Linked DNA regions of Homo sapiens: regions 1 and 2 are each linked to region 3. Evidence: promoter capture Hi-C in human tissues and cell types (Jung and others, 2019). All regions are on one chromosome and are shown on one strand. The core of a region is centred on a gene start or on the middle of the fragment in contact, and the rest is flanking DNA. Distances in the headings are between cores, read along the strand shown. Region 1 holds the start of GALP (galanin like peptide). Region 2 holds the start of ZSCAN5B (zinc finger and SCAN domain containing 5B). Region 3 overlaps ZSCAN5A (zinc finger and SCAN domain containing 5A).

What was found. Contacts are between HindIII fragments. The study calls those that stand out against the background at their distance.
Region 1: the fragment with the promoter of GALP here is called in contact with a fragment that was not itself captured in region 3 in 2 of the 25 tissues and cell types used here (H1 embryonic stem cells and heart left ventricle).
Region 2: the fragment with the promoter of ZSCAN5B here is called in contact with a fragment that was not itself captured in region 3 in 2 of the 25 tissues and cell types used here (H1 embryonic stem cells and liver).

Annotation. Positions count from the first base shown.
Region 1 is chr19:56,174,172-56,177,788 of GRCh38, forward strand. It overlaps GALP (galanin like peptide), which reads left to right and starts at 1,837. Exons shown (of 6, transcript NM_033106.4): 1 at 1,837-1,891; 2 at 2,899-3,024. The coding sequence starts at 2,938. RefSeq lists enhancers at 972-1,522, 1,523-2,073. The HindIII fragment of the contact is 7,717 bases long and covers 1-3,617 here.
Region 2 is chr19:56,196,501-56,200,272 of GRCh38, forward strand. It overlaps ZSCAN5B (zinc finger and SCAN domain containing 5B), which reads right to left and starts at 1,283. Exons shown (of 5, transcript NM_001080456.5): 1 at 1,234-1,283. The HindIII fragment of the contact is 13,117 bases long and covers 1-3,622 here.
Region 3 is chr19:56,263,541-56,267,550 of GRCh38, forward strand. All of the region lies in intron 2 of ZSCAN5A (zinc finger and SCAN domain containing 5A), which reads right to left. Among named protein-coding and RNA genes, the nearest start is that of EDDM13, 7.2 kb to the right of the region's middle. The HindIII fragment of the contact is 5,945 bases long and covers 1-4,010 here.

The sequences.
Region 1 (3,617 bases), core at 587-3,086, 90 kb before region 3:
GGTAACCCAGCTTCAAGCTCTCAGCGTCGCCTCCTCAGTCCTGTCTCCCGTGCAGTGGGCGTCACTCCCTCCTCCTTTCTCCTTCCCAGCAAAGCCATTCACACCTTCTTGTCAGTTTGTCTTCTATAAAAGCTTCCCCCTCCTCCTCCTCCCCTGCCCACTCCTCCTCCTCCTCCTCCTCCTCCTCCTCGTTGTTGTCATCCTCTGGATGAGAAGTGAGGGACTTGGAGAAACAGCGGAGGGGGCTCAGGAGCCCACCAGGGTGTCTGTAATCCCCCACGTCGTCTTCTCACTCCATCCCTCTCCTGGGGTCTCCCTTTCCCCTTGGGATGAGAAAGGATGGGGTAAGGGCTGATGGGGATGTGTAAAGACAGGACAGAGATACAAGTGCCAGCCACAAACCGACAGAATGCTGGAAGGACCTTGGAGGCAATGTGTCCTCCACGGTGGAGAGGAGGAGACAGAACCCAGCCAGGACCAGGGCGTCCCCTCTGTCCCTTAGACAGCAAAGGGCAACAGCAAGAGTAAAACCTCTTCCAAGGTTCTTTCCTCTGGAAAGCAGGTGACGTCAGGGCAAAGAGAGAGCGTGCTGCAGAGACAGATAGATCAACACACATGACAGGAGAGAGACGCAGCAACGACACACTCCTTATTCGTTCACCCAACAAGTATTGAGTGAGCTCCGGGCACTGTTTTAGGGGCTGCTGTGAGGTTTCTCATCTTTGGAGCTATTGACTTTCGGGGCTGGGTCCTTCCCATCGGGGAGGCCTTTCCTGAGCACTGTGGGAGGCTGAGCCGCGTCCCTGGCTTCCACCCACGAGATGCCGGGAGTCCCTCCCAAGTCCCAAGTAAAGATGTCTCCAGCCGGGCGCGGTGGCTCACGCCTGTAATCCCAGCACTTTGAGAGGCTGAGGCGGGAAGATCACGAGGTCAGGAGTTCAAGACTAGCCTGGCCAACATAGTAAAACTCCGTCTGTCTCTACTAAAAATACAAAAAATTAGCCGGGCGTGGTGGCGGGCGCCTGTCGTCCCAGCTACTCGGGAGGCTGAGGCAGGAGAATGGCGTGAACCCGGGAGGCACAGCTTGTAGTGAGCCGAGATCACAGCACTGCACTCCAGCCTGGGCGACAGTGCGAGACTCCGTCTCAAAACAAAAACAAAAAAAACGAACAAACAAAACTGTCTCCAGACTTGGTCACATGTCCTGGGGTGAGGCTGGGGCAGCATCGGGGCAGAGTCACTCCTGGTTGAGAGCTTCCGGCCTAGGGACGCAGCCATGAACAAGACACAGTTGACACCCCTCATGGGGTCTCCTTTAGCCAGGGTGGTAGGTGGGGGGCGGGGAGATAGACAGCTCACAAGTAAACAAATAAACAGGGTCTACCGTGCAAGACAGAAGAAATGCAACTCAGTGAGGGAGCTGCGGAGGCTTGGAGGGATTGATGGGGGCAGAGGGGACAGGGCTACGGAGACACCAGTGGCAGGTGGAGACAACCAAGGAAGACACAGGTCAAGGCCCAGACGCAGATAAGAGGGAGGGAGGGAGCCCTCGAATAGCTGCAAAGTCTGGAACAGGACAGCTGGAAGATAAAGGGGCACAGAAGGAGGGGGAAGGGCAGGGTCTACCAGGGGAAACCAAGGCACAGCAGCATTTCCCGCGATGAAGTGTGTGTTTTGACCTCACAGACCAGCGTTTGAAAGCCCCTGGAGTGGATGACTGTTCCCCCACCTCCATCCTCTTCACTCCCTCTCCCTTCTTCTAATCCCCTCCCTTTCCCCCCTCCCTTCTATTGTCTCCTCAGAAGGCATAAAAGCTCAGGGGGCGTGAAAGAGTCCAGGCGCTGGAGCGAGGAGCCAGAGAGAGCTGCGGAGAGCTGCCAGCTGCAGCGGGGTGAGAGCCTAGGCCAGGAGGGCAGAGGGGCGGATCCCAGCTGCACCGGGGTGAGAGCCTAGGCCAGGAGGGCACAGGGTCGGCTGCCAGCTGCAGCGGGGTGAGAGCCTAGGCCAGGAGGGCAGAGGGGCGGATGCCAGCTGCAGCGGGGTGAGAGCCTAGGCCAGGAGGGCACAGGGGCGGATGCCAGCTGCAGCGGGGTGAGAGCCTAGGCCAGGAGGGCAGAGGGGCGGATCCCAGCTGCACCGGGGTGAGAGCCTAGGCCAGGAGGGCAGAGGGGCGGATCCCAGCTGCACCGGGGTGAGAGCCTAGGCCAGGAGGGCAGAGGGGCGGATCCCAGCTGCACCGGGGTGAGAGCCTAGGCCAGGAGGGCAGAGGGGCGGATGCCAGCTGCAGCGGGGTGAGAGCCTAGGCCAGGAGGGCAGAGGGGCGGATCCCAGCTGCACGGGGGTGAGAGCCTAGGCCAGGAGGGCAGAGGGGCGGATGCCAGCTGCAGCGGGGTGAGAGCCTAGGCCAGGAGGGCAGAGGGGTGGATGCCAGCTGCACCGGGGTGAGAGCCTAGGCCAGGAGGGCAGAGGGGTGGATCCAAGCTGCACTGGGGTGAGAGCCTAGGCCAGGAGGGCAGAGGGGTGGAGGGAGTGAGGGGCTCCTGGGAGAGTGATGGGGGGCTTGAAGGGATGGGGATAACAGGAGAAACCCCAGCATTGGTGGCAGGGAAAAGGTGAGGGGCAGGTAAGGGGACGGAAAGGTTTGAAGATGGAGTGGTGGAGGCAGTGGGGCAGAAGGCATGGGCGCTGGGGGACCAGGTCGGCCTGATCCGATGATGGGGGAAGGAGAGGCTTAATTGCTTGCACACGTCCAAACTCCTCAAGATGTGTACATTAAATGTGCGCCATTTTTGTATCTCGATGATGCCTCCATAAAGCTAAAAAATAAATTCCTCTGTCCTTATCGGAAATGCACCTGGCCCCCGCTTCGGAAAATGACTGGCCGCTCTCTCCTTGCAGCGTGTTCCGCAGCTGTAGGCACCTGTCGTCCTGCCTTCGATGGCTCCTCCCTCCGTCCCCCTGGTCCTCCTCCTCGTCCTCTTGCTGAGCCTGGCAGAGACTCCAGCATCCGCACCTGCCCACCGGGTAACGCCTCCCTAAGTTCCTCGGAAACAACAGTGTCCCCAAATCCCTGCCCTCTGGGAAGAGTTTTTAAAAATGCTTCTGGCTTGTGTCAAGGGTCCTGGGGAAGAAGCTCAAATCCTGAAAATATGAGAAGAAATATTGCGTGTCTCTACTAAAAACACAAAAATTAGCCGGGCATGGTGGCACGTGCCTGTAGTCCCAGCTACTCAGGAGGCTGAGGCAGGAGAATCGCTTGAACCTGGCAGGCGGAGGTTGCAGCGAGCCGAGATTGTGCCACTGCACTCCAGCCTGGGTGACAGAGCGAGACTCCATCTCAAAAAAAAAAAAAAAAAAGAAGAAATGGGGTTTCACCATGTTGGCTAGGCTGGTCTTGAACTCCTGACCTCCTGGCTTCAAGTGATCCACCCGCCTTGGCCTCCCAAAGTACTGGGATCACAGGTGTCAGCCACGGCACCCAGTCTGGGACGACACTTTGAAAACCTTTGATCACACACCTCCACAGCATGGGCTGTAGAGGCTGGGTTGAGTTTGAAATCCGGGATCTGCGACTTTCTAGCTGTGTGACTTCAGTCACATTGCCTAACCTCTCTGGT
Region 2 (3,772 bases), core at 33-2,532, 68 kb before region 3:
GAGGTAGAGCCTATGGCAGTTTGCTCGATTTAGCCGTTGCACAATGCGTACACACCTTGACACACTATGCTGTGCACCGGACATATACACCATTATATATTTATATTTCTCAATTTGAAAGTAAATTAGGCCTGGTGCGATGGCTCACTCCTGTCACCCCAGTGCTCTGGGAGGCGGAGGTGGCAGGATCACTTCAGCCCAGCAGTGAACCGCGATTGTGCCACTGTGCTCCAGCCTGGGAGACACATCCAGCGGCCATCTCGTTTTGTTTATTTATTAAGTAAATCGATACATTTTTTAAAAGCATACAGATATGAGAAAAGGCAGCCTGAAATTCTGGGAATTAAAGAGGTTTTCCCGCCAGGTTCCCTAAGCGCCCCTGCTCAGAAAGCGGAGATCGAGGCTGAGGCGGGCAGATTGCTTGAGCCGAGGAGTTCGAGACCAGACTGGGCAAAGCAGCGAGACCACGTCTCTATAGTAAATAAAAAAATGCACTCGGGCGGTGTGGTGGTGTGCTCCTGCAGCCCCAGCTAGGTGGAGGCCGAGGAGGGCACATAGCTTGAGCCTGGGAGTTCCAGGCCAGCCTGGGAAATGAGCGAGACCCCGTCTCTGAAAAATAAAATGAAACAAAACCTAACCATGATGAGAAAGTTAACATTATTACTTTATTTTTCTCCTTTTTTTTTTTTTGAGACGGAGTTTTGCTTTGTTACCCAGGCTGGAGTGCAATGGCGCGACCTCGGCTCACTGCAACCTCTGCCTCCTGGGTTCAAATGACTCTCCTGACTCAGTCTCCCGAATAGCGGGTATTACCCTAACCTCTGCCTCCTGGGTTCAAACGACTCTCCTGACTCAGTCTCCTGAATAGCGGGTATTACGGGCGCCCGCCACCACGCCCGGCTAATTTTTGTATTTTTGTTAGAGTCGGGGTTTCACCATGTTGGTCAGACTGGTCTTGAACTCCTGATCCCGTGATCTGCCCACCTCGGCCTCCAGAGTAGCTGGGATTACAGGCGTGCGCCACTGGGCCCGACCGAGAAAGTTAATATTATTCCTAGTTTACAGAAGCACTTCATCGCCAGTCAGAGTTAATCATGGGGTGCAAAGGAGACCCGCTGCCTTCACAAAGTCTCCGAGAAAATAAATGCATGAGAAAATAAACCCAAACTTTCTGAAACCAACCCCCCGCATGCCAGCTCCGAAACCCCACAGCCATCGCCGCTGGACACTCACCTCCTTCCCGGCTTCTGCCTCCGACCTTCTCGGTCTGGGATGCGCTCTCCAACCGGCCTGGAGCTGAACTGCGTCTATTTATGGAGAAGCGGGACTCCAGGCCGCGTTTCCGGTTCCCTGCGCCGCGCCGTGATTGGTTTAGGGCCACAGAGTCCATTTTCGTAATCGGCGTTGATTACATTTCCCACTGAAACCCCACCCACAGGAAATTAATGTATTAAACGTGCCTACTGTGCAAATAATACAGGTTTTCCCGCTCTACTGAGTTGTCATATTGCTGAAGTATGTGGAGGCCTCAGAAAATATAGATCTGCAAGTTTTAACCACTTTGGGTCCCCTCATGCCACAGACAGTAATATCCTAACAAGTAAAGGACGTGTTAAGAGCTGGTTGACTTCGCTTATTAAAACAAAACGGAAAAAGAAAAAAAAAAGAAAAATTCAAAATAGAGTTGGTTGATTAATATCAAACCAGTGATTTAATCTCATTTTTAATCTCATTTGAGCGAAGCTTTCACACGCGAATTCCAAGATGTTGAAAATTGTGGACACTCGTTGATATGTAATGAATGTTTGTGATAATTTTTTACTTTTTTATTTTTTTCAAAATCTTGGAATTGGCATGTGAAAGCTTTGTTCAAACTAAACTAAATCACTGATTTGATATCAGCCTTATATAAAAGCAGTGGGAACCAGAGAAAGGCACATGGTCCCCACTCTGCATTCATTCCAGGACGGTGATAGGGTGGTTTATAGATACACTGAGGGTCCTACGGGGTTCCCTAGTTCTCAGCCCCCTCAGTTAGGGCTCTCAAGCAAGAAAAGCCTTAACGGTGGGTGTGAATTTTACTGTGTGGATCATGGAGTTAATGTGGAATGATAATTAAGTGCTAGGCAGGATTAGATTACAATTTGGGAAGTTCACACCATCAGTTGGATGACACTAATCCATTCAAGTAGTGACTCATTCATTTTAATTTCAGAGGAAACCTTCTCGTCTAACCTTTAGGACAAATTGGAGGGCTGTTAATTTTACACTGATTCTGGTTTAAATCCTTGGAAAATCTTAAGCCGCTTCACTCTGGGAACTTCAAACTTCTTGTGACTAGAACCTTCCTGATGTGTTGTTTTGAAGATGCAATAAGACTGGGTCAATAAAGTGCTCGATACAAGGTCATTTTGCCAAACAGTTGTGACAATTATTTTCTGGTGCATTTTCTCATACTTTGTGATATTTTCCCTTCTTAACCACTGAGGTGTTGACAATGGGTTGGAGTTAAGAATGGAATTAATGGCCGGGCGCGGAGGCTCACGCCTGTAATCCCAGCACTTTGGGAGGCCGAGGCGGGCGGATCACGAGGTCAGGAGATCGAGACCACCCTGGCTAACACGGTGAAACCCCGTCTCTACGAAAAATACAAAAAAGTAGCCAGGCGTGGTGGCAGGTGCCTGTAGTCCCAGCTACTCGGGAGGCTGAGACAGGAGAATGGCATGAACCCGGGAGGCGAAACTTGCAGTGAGCGGAGATCACACCACTGCACTCCAGCCTGGGCGACAGACCGAGACAGCGTCTCAAAAAAAAAAAAAAGGAATTATTCACTGGAATTAACTGGGAGCTGCCTAAACCACCATCTTCCTATCTGCTTCCCCCGAATCCTCCCCTCTGGAAACTCACAGTCTATTTCTGTGAAGTATGTTGTTGGTATTTTGGTAGGGATCGCATTGAATCTGTAGATGTCTATTAATAGTATGGTCTTTTTCACAATGTTGATTCTTCCCCCTACGAACATGTCTTCCCATTTTCTGGGGTCCGCTTTAATATTTTTCATTAGTGTTTAACAGTTTTCCTTGTGGAAATCTTTCACCTCCTTAGTTAAATTTACTTCCAGGGTTTTGGGGTGTCTTTTGCTCTTGTAAATGAGATTGCTTTCTTGATTTTTTTCTTGCCACTAGTTCGTTGTTGGTGTATAAAAACACTACTGATTTTTGCATATCGACTTAGTATCTGGCCACCTTACTGAATTGGTTTATCAATTCTAAGAGTTTTACTGGTGGAGGTTTCAGGGATTCTTATAGATGACATCATGTTGTTGGCAAAGAGAGACAATTCGACTTCCTCCTTCTGAATTTGGATGCCCTTTGTTCGTTGCTCTGGTTGAGACTTTCCCAACACATTATTATTAACGAAGGTCACCAGGCTGAAGTTTGGAAACAGGTATATATTGTGATGCAATCGCCAGGACCAAGCTAGTTAACATCTCCCTCAACTCACATAGATACCACGTTCTTTCCTTCTTCTTATTTGTTTAATTCTCAATTATTGGGCTCAAGCAATCCTGCTTCAGCCTCCCTAGCAGCTAAGACTACAGGCACGAGCCACATCTGGCTTTCTTTTGATATCGTTTTTTTTTTTTCTTTTTGAGATGGAGTCTCATTCCATCACCCAGGCTGCAGTTGCAGTGGTGCGATCTTGGCTCACTGCAACCTCTGGCAGGAGGATTGCTTGACCCAGGAATTATGGACATAAATAGATAATGAAA
Region 3 (4,010 bases), core at 980-3,479:
AGATAAAATGTTCTGAGTGCCTTAACCCAGAAAAACTGCAACTCTAGACCCTGGATGTTCTAAACGACGCAATCAGAACATCTTCCCATATTCTTTGGAAGAAACTCTAACACTTTCCTCTTTCTACTTCTACCTAAAACATCTGAAAGAAGGGAGGCGAGAGAGGAGAGAATTATGCATTTAAACAAAGACAAGGAATTGCGAAAATCACCATTTTTAAAGAAGTATAGATTTCATAAGAACCTCTGAGATGATGATAATGCATGATAATAACATGTAATAACAATAATTATAATAGTATTATGCTTCTATGAGCCATATAAATATTATATGCTATACATATTGCTAAGTGTTTTACAACCTTCACCTCATTTATTTCCCCCTAAAAGTCTATGATTTTATGTAAGAGGAAAATGAAGCTCCAAGAAAAACTTTTTTTTTTTTTTTGAGATGGAATCTCGTTCTGTCACCCATGCTGGAGTGCAATGGCATGATCTTGGCTCACTGCAACAGCACTATCTTGGCTCACTGCAACCTCCGCCTCCCAGGTTCAAGCAACTCTCCTGCCTCAGCCTCCTGAGTAGCTGGGATTGCAGGCACCCGCCACCTCACCCAGCTTAATTTTTTGTATTTTTAGTAGAGATGGGGTTTCACCATGTTGGCCAGGCTGGTCTCGAACTCCTGACCTCAAGTGATCCACCTGCCTCAACCTGCCAGTGTTGGGATTACAGGCATGAGCCAGCACACCCAGCCCAAGAAAGACTTTTTGGACACTATCTCAGGGTAAGGGAGTAGCAGGATTGGGATTTACACCTGGATCTGACTCTCAAGCTCATGCTCATTCCACTACAGAAAATGACCTGTTTGTTCAGGTCTTCCTATTAACTGAGATCTTCCATCTTCCAGGAATGATGCAGTACATTCCAAGAAAGATGTGTTATGGAAGTGACATCAGATCTGAATCCTGAAGTCAAAGTTTCATTTAGTAGAAATCAAGGTAAGATGAGGAAGTGTTGGGAGACTGGACTATGAAGTATGAAGAGTCTGTATCAGAGGCTGGCAAACTATAGTTGACCATTTGTTTTTATAAATAAAGTTCTATTGGAACATAGCTAGCTCCCCTTGCTTATGTATTGTCTCTGGTGGCTTTCTCACTACAGTGGCAAAGTTGAGTAATTGCGACAGGGACCATATGGCTAACAAAGACAAAAATAGTTACTATCTTGCTCTTGACAGAAAAAGTTTTCCTACTCTTGATCTAGGTCACACTAAAGCTTTTAGTCATAAATGCTATCCTAGGGCTGGGCGCGGTGGCTCATGCCTGTAATCCCAGCACTTTGGGAGGCCGAGGCAGGTGGATCACTTGAGGTCAAGAGTTCAAGGCCAGCCTGGCAGACATGGTGAAACCCCGTATCTACTACAAATACAAAAATTAGCCAGGTGTGGTGGCAGGCGCCTGTAATCCCAGCTACTCGGGAGGCTGAGGCAGGAGAACTGCTTGAACCTGGGAGGCGGAGGTTGCAGTGAGCTGAGATCACACCACTGCACTCCAGCCCGGGTGACAGAGTGAGACTCCATCTCAAAAATAAATAAATAAATTAAATAAATGCTTATCCTGTATGTAATGTTGAGCCATGGAAGGATTTGGAGTAGGGGAGACACATGGGCTTATTTCAGAATTACAAAAAAACCATTCTCAGATCCATCCTAGCACAGGGCACTCCCATGATAAAGGCATCAACAACACAATTCCAAACCATCTTCACTTCTCAATCTTTCACCTTGAATACCATTTCAACAAATATTAATTGAGCATCTAGTATGCACCTATACTCTATGTAAGTGGTTAAAGCTGTAAGCAAGCAGTAAGGCTTGAAACTTAAAGCTGGTGGAAAGTAAACTGAGGAAGTGAGCTTTCTCTTTGAGAGATCCAATGGAAGGAAGACTATGTACAGAAGGACAGCAGCCAGAGGTTGCCTTAGAACACAAACAGAGCTGAACTTCTTGAATCAAGCAGGTTTTTTGGGTTCCAGTGGCAGAAACGGACTTTGGCTAGCTTAAAAGAGAAATCACTGGAAGGAACTGGCAAAGGGGTGGAGTTCAAAGGATTAAAGTGAAGGCTGGAGAGTGGGTTTGGGAAAGAGTGAAGCCTGGGAAACCAAGAGATTTCTGTATCATGAGCCACTCAACACTCTCACCTGAAAAGCATTAAATCTGCTTCTTCCACTCTTGCTTTACTCAATTCGAGATTTAAAGTGCCAGGTAAGCAGTCTGATTAGCCTGGCTTAGGACAAAGGTTGGTTGGCTTTAGTGTAAAAATAAGGATCTGGTGCAAGGAGCTTTGAGGGACCCTGCTTGCTTTTCATTATGAGAAAATGGGCACGTGCATTAACTATCCCACCAGGACCACATACAGTGGAGCAGAGGTAATTCTTCCAAAGGAAATCAGGGTATAGAGACTTAGCAGCTAAACAAGTTCACAAATGTCAATCATACCTGTATAGATTCAAATCCTACCTCTTCCAATTATTGGCTTTGTTGACTTTGGGCAAAGTTATCTCATTTGCAAAGAGAAATTATAATACTACCCAGCTCTTAAAATTATGAGCTAATAGATATGAAGTGCTTAGAACCACGTCTGGCACATCATAATCACCCAATTAAGCTTAACTGCTGAGAGTATTATGATTATTACTGCATGCTTGCTAAAAATAGCACCAAGTGATAGAGCCCACGGTGAGATCTAGGCCCTCATTCCAAAGCTCCCGCTCTTTCTGCCAAGCCAAGCTGCCTTTGCAGATCCAACCTCAGTTAAATGAGATGATAATGTGTGTGAAGTTGTTGGGGCAGGTGCCCAAAGAGGATGCTCAATTACTGTCCAAGACTTTCTTCCTCTCTCCCCAAAGAAGTGAGTAGGCTTAGGCTTTGCTTTCTGCTTGGGAGATGCCCCCACTTTTTTTTTTTTTTTTTTTTTTGAGATGGAGTCTCACTCTGTCACTGAGGCTGGAGAGCAGTGGCGCGATCTCGGTGCCTGGTTCAAGCAATTCTTCTGCCTCAGCCTCCCGAGTAGCTAGGACTACAGGCACCTGCCACCATGCCCGGCTAATTTTTTGTAATTTTAGTAGAGACGGGGTTTCACCATGTTACCCAGGATGGTCTCGATCTCCTGACCTCGTGATCCACCTGCCTTGGCCTCCCAAAGTGCTGGGATTACAGGCGTGAGCCACGGTGCCTGGCCGGAGATGCCCATATTTAATAGAGAACCAAGTGGGTGTAAGAGGGCCCAGGGAAAGCAGACAAAGAGGAATGTTCCTGGTTTGTGCTTACTATCATTCTCACGGCGGAGCCCACTCAGGTTTGTTGACAATCTGGCCCCTGCCTACCACTCTAACCTCTCCTCCCTCCACATTCCCATGAGCTTACCCTGCTCCATCCACAATGATCTTCTTTCTGCGTGTCAAATTCCTTCTGCTTTTTTCTGCCTCGGGGTCTTTGCACAAGCTGTTCCCTCTGTCTAAGCTACTCTTACCCCAGATCTTCATTAGGATCTAAACTCAAATGTGACCATCTCAGTGAGGTCTCTCCTGACAACTCTAGCTACGGCAGCATCTCAACCCCATCGGTCTCTAACACATGGCCCTATTTCAGTTTCTTTGCAGCAATGACCAGTACATGAAATTATATATGTGTTTGTCAATATTGTTGTTTGTCTTCCTACACCAGACTATAAACTCCACAGGGTTAGAGAAAGTGCATCCCCAACACCGAGACTGCTTGGTTCACAGAGGGTGCTTTTACACATATGGCTCTGTCAGAACTGTCATAGCAACCCTGTTAGGTATATAGTCTATTAAGGCTGAGAGGCGCTTAGTATCATGATTTAGAGCAGCACTGTCCAATATATGTAGCTATTTAGATTTACCACGTAGCTATTTAGATTTACATGCTTCATAATGAAATAAAATGAAAACTTCATTTCCTTAGTTGCATTAGCGTCACCTCAAGTGCTC